Regions from separate parts of the Homo sapiens genome. Here region 2 is linked to region 1. Evidence: promoter capture Hi-C in human tissues and cell types (Jung and others, 2019). All regions are on one chromosome and are shown on one strand. Each heading gives the region's core, a stretch centred on a gene start or on the middle of the fragment in contact. The rest is flanking DNA. Distances are from core to core; before and after follow the strand shown.

What was found. The method cuts DNA at HindIII sites, captures the fragments that hold promoters and counts their contacts. A contact is called where the count stands out against the background at its distance.
Region 2: a fragment that was not itself captured here is called in contact with the fragment with the promoter of KLHL35 in region 1 in 2 of the 25 tissues and cell types used here (H1 embryonic stem cells and pancreas).

The regions. Positions count from the first base shown.
Region 1 is chr11:75,431,688-75,434,523 of GRCh38, forward strand. KLHL35 (kelch like family member 35) reads right to left here and starts at 1,516. Exons shown (of 7, transcript NM_001039548.3): 1 at 1,356-1,516. RefSeq lists an enhancer at 154-1,040. The HindIII fragment of the contact is 12,939 bases long and covers 1-2,836 here.
Region 2 is chr11:75,303,856-75,306,614 of GRCh38, forward strand. The region is part of intron 1 of ARRB1 (arrestin beta 1); the gene reads right to left. Among named protein-coding and RNA genes, the nearest start is that of MIR326, 30 kb to the right of the region's middle. RefSeq lists an enhancer at 1-444. The HindIII fragment of the contact is 8,452 bases long and covers 1-2,759 here.

The DNA.
Region 1 (2,836 bases), core at 266-2,765:
AGTCACTCCTCTCACCTGCCCGCCCTGGCCTCAGTTATCTCATCTGAAATGGGATCATCATCCCTACCTCACAGGGCTGTGGCTTCATGACTATTACATGGGCTGTATGAAAAGTGCTAGTACACAGTACGAGCTACATGGGTGTTTCCCTATATTGCTTTTACTCAAGAGGAAGGGAGGACACTGTGTGTGCCAGTTGCTTTTATAGACATAATTTAATTTCATCCTCACAAGCTGAGAAGTTTCTTTAGCCCACACCTGCCCCTTTAGTTTGTCATAAGGGAAACAAGCACACACAGGACACCCGCCCTTCAGAAGTTTGCGGCGAGGCTCAGCAGAGGGGTGTTTGTGAAGGCGCTCTGCAGACTGAGGGGCTGGGCCATGCTGGTTATGATTTGGCCATTATGAACACAAAACCTCTGCTTGCACACCTCCAGGGACAGGGAGCTCCCTCCTTTCCATCAGCTTACTCTAGGGGGCTCAGGTCCACCCTCTGCGCCCTGCCTCTCCTTCCATCCTCCTGCTCCCAGCTGCTCTGCTGCCTCTGGAGGTCAGATCCCGCCTAGTGTCAGCCTGGCTTTCATGCCCTGGTCATCCAGGGCAGCGGATCCCCTGGTCAGCATCATGAGAGATGAGCTCCCTGGTGGGCAAGAAAGTTAACTACTTTTGCCCAAGTAGAGCGACTGGATCCTGAATCCACCTGGCTCCAGGGTTTGCATGCCACACTTGCCAGGGTGGGGGTGTGTCCCAAGGAGCAGCCAGGACCGGTGGAAGGAAGTGAGACCGGTCATCACAGCACGCTGCAACCAGTCTGTCCTCCACTGGCTCAGAAAGCACAACCATGCTCTGAGTTGAGACTCAAGAGGGCAGGTCTCATCAGCATAAGGATGGACTTCTTGCAAAGGTGCCCCACAGCACAAGCAGCTCCCTGGGGGAGAAAGAGTCCCCTCCTAGGAAGTGTGTCAGTACTTTTTCATTTTACTGTCTACTGCGCTGGGCACTCTGGACACACAGTGACATCAGATCCAGCATTCACTCTGGGGATCCCCAGTCTGGGGGTCAAACGACACCCAGTTGGAACACAGAAGGTAAAAATTCCCAGGTAGGGCTCAATGGGTATCCTCCCTTCTCGGCTGAGTCTAGGCACTTCAAGCCAGGGGTCATGATGCAGATTGAAGGGCCCAGCCTATAGAAGCTGACTCGAACATGCCACCATCACTCTTTTACACACCCACATCCACTTGAAGCCATTACCCAAGCACCTCCTCCGCATCCTCCCCATCTCAGACTTGCGGACACCACGCAGCCGGGTCAGCCCTGCAGCCTAAGCCTTGCCCCATGCACCTGGCACTTACCTGGCCATACCCTCTCCCAAGTGCTCCGCAGCTGCTGCTCTCACAGGTATCACTCCCGTTTGTGCCTGCCGCCCGCACCCCTGGCAGCCCAAGCTCCAGTGTTCATGCTGCTCTGCCCAGACTCCCGTTTGCTGTTCGCTCGGGCTCAGCTGCGGGAGGACAAAGGGGCTGGACGCCAGGAGGGAGGGGAAGGGAGGGGAAGGGAGAAGCGAGCAGGGAGGGGGATGCTGGGCTTTTGTTCCACTCTTGGACTAGCCCTGGGAGGGAGGGAAAGAAAGGGGGGGCATAAGAGTGGGATTGACTGTGTGTGGAACTCCAGGATTTGGTATGCCTGGGTTTGGGGGTGACCTGGTGCTGGCCTTGTCCCGGAATGACGATGGGTTCGAAGGTGTGTGGTGCTGGAGTTGGGGTGTGGGAGGGGTGTCATCATGCAGTTGTAGGCATGTAGGTTTCAGGGTGACTATGCGTGATTGTGGAAGTACATGGAATGAAGTGACTGTGTAGCATTGGGCTGCGTGTGGACATGTGGCTGTGTGACCATGTAGATGCCAATGTGACTAAGCATGTGGGGCGGGGGGCACAGTGGCTCTGAGTCTCATTCCCTTGAGCTCAGGGAGAGGCGGGAGCTGACCTCTGCCCCAGGAAGCAGAGCACTTGCCAGACATTCAGTAGCAGGGGCAGGAGGGCCGGTCCTCGAGGTTACTGTGGGGGCCCAGTGGAGCTTCCAACATTTGCAGAGGGCTCTTTTCTTTTTTACCTATAAGGTGCCAGAATCTCCTAGACCCCAAGAATTCTATCCAGAAGATCCCTGTTTGGAAGAGACACGTCCCTTGGCTCCCAGGAAGCATGGAGTTAATTTGATGCAGGCTGGAGCTGGGGCTCAGCTTCCCCCTTTTCCCTCAGGTCACACCCATGACCAGGCAGACTCTCAGGACAAAGAGGGGAGTTACAGGCCTGCTCTGACACCACCACTGACTCCTGCCCACAGACAGCAGAGGTCCCAAGGACTGGAAGGAAAGGACACCTGTGGTCCCAGGGCTGTACTTTGGCTTTCAGCTCAGGTGCCCCCAGTCCTGGGCATGGGCATGGGCCCTCCTCAGGCAGGTCCAAAGCTCGGAGAAGTCAAAGCCAAACTCCTGGCATGGGGAAGAGGCCTCCCTGTGCTGAGGGCTTGTCCCAACATAGCCGGGAGGTTCAGAATGCCTTCATGTGGCTGTGAGGGCACCTGCCAGTCCCACTCCCAGCCCTACATTGGACCCAGGAGCCCTCCCCCTCTGCGTGTCATTCCTAGCTTATGGGAGGCACACATATGCGCTGGGGCCAGAGTCTGGATGGGATTCTGGCTTGGCCTGTTCTAAGCTGTGTGGCTTTTGGAGGTCACTTTACCTCTCCAAGACTGTCTCCCCATCCACCATATGAGGATACCGGCTCCCAGCCACTGGCACCATGGCGGACCCAGGGAAGGGGAGGCACCATTCTGC
Region 2 (2,759 bases), core at 260-2,759, 130 kb before region 1:
GCCACGGAACTGAAATGATGGCAAACCCCAGGGAACAGAAACTGCGACTTCAGTCACTTATGTTCCTTGGTACATAGTAGGTGCTTAATAAAGATTTTGAATGAATAAACAAGAGCCAAGCCCTGAGCTTGAGGCTGGGAAAAAATAGGACCTGGGCCAAGAAGCGGCAGCCTTGCCATCTGGATGAGCACCATGGATGCGCAGTCTTGGCGGGAACCCATTAGCTATAGGGCACTCCTGACACAAGACAGGCCATTATTTTCCCAGCGGAAAGATTTTATTTAAAGGGGGTTTTTGTTTGGTTTGTTTGTTTTGCCAATTTCAACATGCAAACTTTTAAGGATATAGAATAACATATGTTAAAATAAGATATTAATTCAAAAACATCATTAATTTCTTCCTATTCTCACATTTCATAAAATGTCACAACAGATCCACTATGGCAGCATATCTCTGACTCTGTGTCCACTGCTCTGTGGATCAGTCAGTAAGCCGAGAGGGTTCTCTGTGGTCAGGGACTCCATACAGACTGAAATCTAAGGCCTAAGGTGCCAGCTTTTTCCAGGGAAATAGTTGTGGGGGAAAAAAACTGCCTTATATTTATCTGGATGGGGTGCCCACGGTGTGCTGAGCTGGCTTGTACAGGCTCATAAGAGCCAAGTGTCACATTTTTAAGAATTTTGTGAGGTAGTTGTTAAACACAGCCAGTACCGTTGGTTCTCAGCCGGGGGCGAATTTGCACCCCAGGGGACACCTGGCAATGTCTGGAGACATTGTGGGCTGTCATGATTTGGGGAAGAGGTGCTACTAACATCTAGTAGGTAGAGGCCAAGGATGCTGCCTGCATAATGCACATGTCAGTCCCCCCAAACCCCCCGCAAAGGATCTCCAGACCAAAATGTTATGGTGCTGATGCTGAGAAACCCTGCTTGGAGCAGTGGCTCATGCCTGCAATCCCAGCACTCTGGGAGGCTGAAGTGGGAGGATCGCTTGAACCCAGGAGTTTGAGACCAGGCTGGGCAACAACCTGTCTTTAAAAAGAGAGAGGAAAAAAAAAAGTTTAAAAAAAAGAAAAATAGAAATCCTAATGTGAACTTACAATTAAATAAACTCTATTAAAAGCAAAGGGAATGCATTTTCTTTTCTTTTCTTTTCTTTCTTTCTTTTTTTTTTTTTTTTTTTTTTGAGACAAGAGTCTTGCTCTGTTGCCCAGGCTAGAATGTGGAATGCAGTGACATGATCTCGGCTCACTGCAACCTCCACCTCCTGGGTTCATGCAATTCTCGTGACTCAGCCTCCCAAGTAGCTGGGATTACAGGTAATGTGCCACCACGCCCACCCAGCTAATTTTTGTATTTTTTTTTTTTTTGGTAGAGACGGAGTTTCACCATGTTGGCCAGGCTGGTCTTGAACTCCTGACCTCAAGTGATCCTCCAGCTTCTGCCTCCCAGAGTGCTGGAATTACAGGCATAAGAAACCATGCCTGGCCCAGGAATGCATTTTCAAAACTGATTACATACTAATTATTTTACTGTTGTTACTATCATACCCTCAAGGGTATTTATGCCTACTATACCTGTATGGTGGAAATGCTATACAATGGTGTCTACTGTTCATCTCTTCCCAACTGCACATTCAGTGACTTCACACTGGTAGAGTGAAATCTGAAGTCAGAGTATTTACATCACAGAAATTGGCAGATGCTAAAATCCCCCACCCTTCTTTTTTTCTGGAGGGCCAGTTGTTACCAGCACACTGTTGGGTGTAACCCTAAGTAGAGAAGATAAATTCACAAGCTTGATGAATCCTTCCCAGTTTCCAGCCTAGGCAGACGACTCAGCACCAGCCTGCTGTATGGATCAAGGATCTGAATGTGGTCGTGTGCACGCACTCTACACACCATGCACAGAAAGACATACACAAATACTAAACAGTAACACACCTGCATCACACTCCACACACACATCTTGTCTACAAACCCCCACATATACAACATGCACACAGCATATAACCGACTAAACATGCACCCCACAGTAGCCCTTCAGTCAGCAGGGGAATAATTTGAATAATGACAAACACAAGCAAAAGAATGACAACCTGACTGACCAAATTCCTTGATATCTGAGCACCTTCACCTTTACTCCCTCCTCATCCTCTGTGATCCACCCTTCCCCGCACACCCCGACACCACACTGCAAAGGCAAAGGTCTCAACCCTCACAAGAAGCACCAAACCCACTGACCCCATTTCAGTCCCGCTGGAGGCCCTGGCCACCTGACTCCCCATCCCTGCTCTGTGCCCAGCTCTCAGGAGACTCCAGAGCTGAGTCTGACCTTGGCCCCTTCCCAGAGCCCATGAAAAGGAGTTCCCTGGGCAACTCCACCCACCTGACCACTTCAGCTGCCACCGATGCCAGTAAGTCCAAACCTCGTCTCCAGCCAGACCCTCTCTGACCCCCACCCATCAGCCTTCAGACATTTCTACTCGATGTCCCCCAACTCCTTAGACAAGTCCCAAACAGCCTTCCCCCATCTCCACCCCGCACTGTTCCTCCCTGTGTTCTCCATCCCCACCTATGCCAGAGGCTGGTGCGCAGGAAGCACTCAATGCACATCTCATGGAGAGAGGAAGAAATCATGTAAATCCCAGAAAGAGAGGAAAAGCAAACTTCCTGGTGAGTCAGATAGAAAGTCTTACCCCATTTTACAGATGAGAGCCCAAAGATTCAGTGGAGTGAAGAGGCCAGCCCAGAAGCAGCG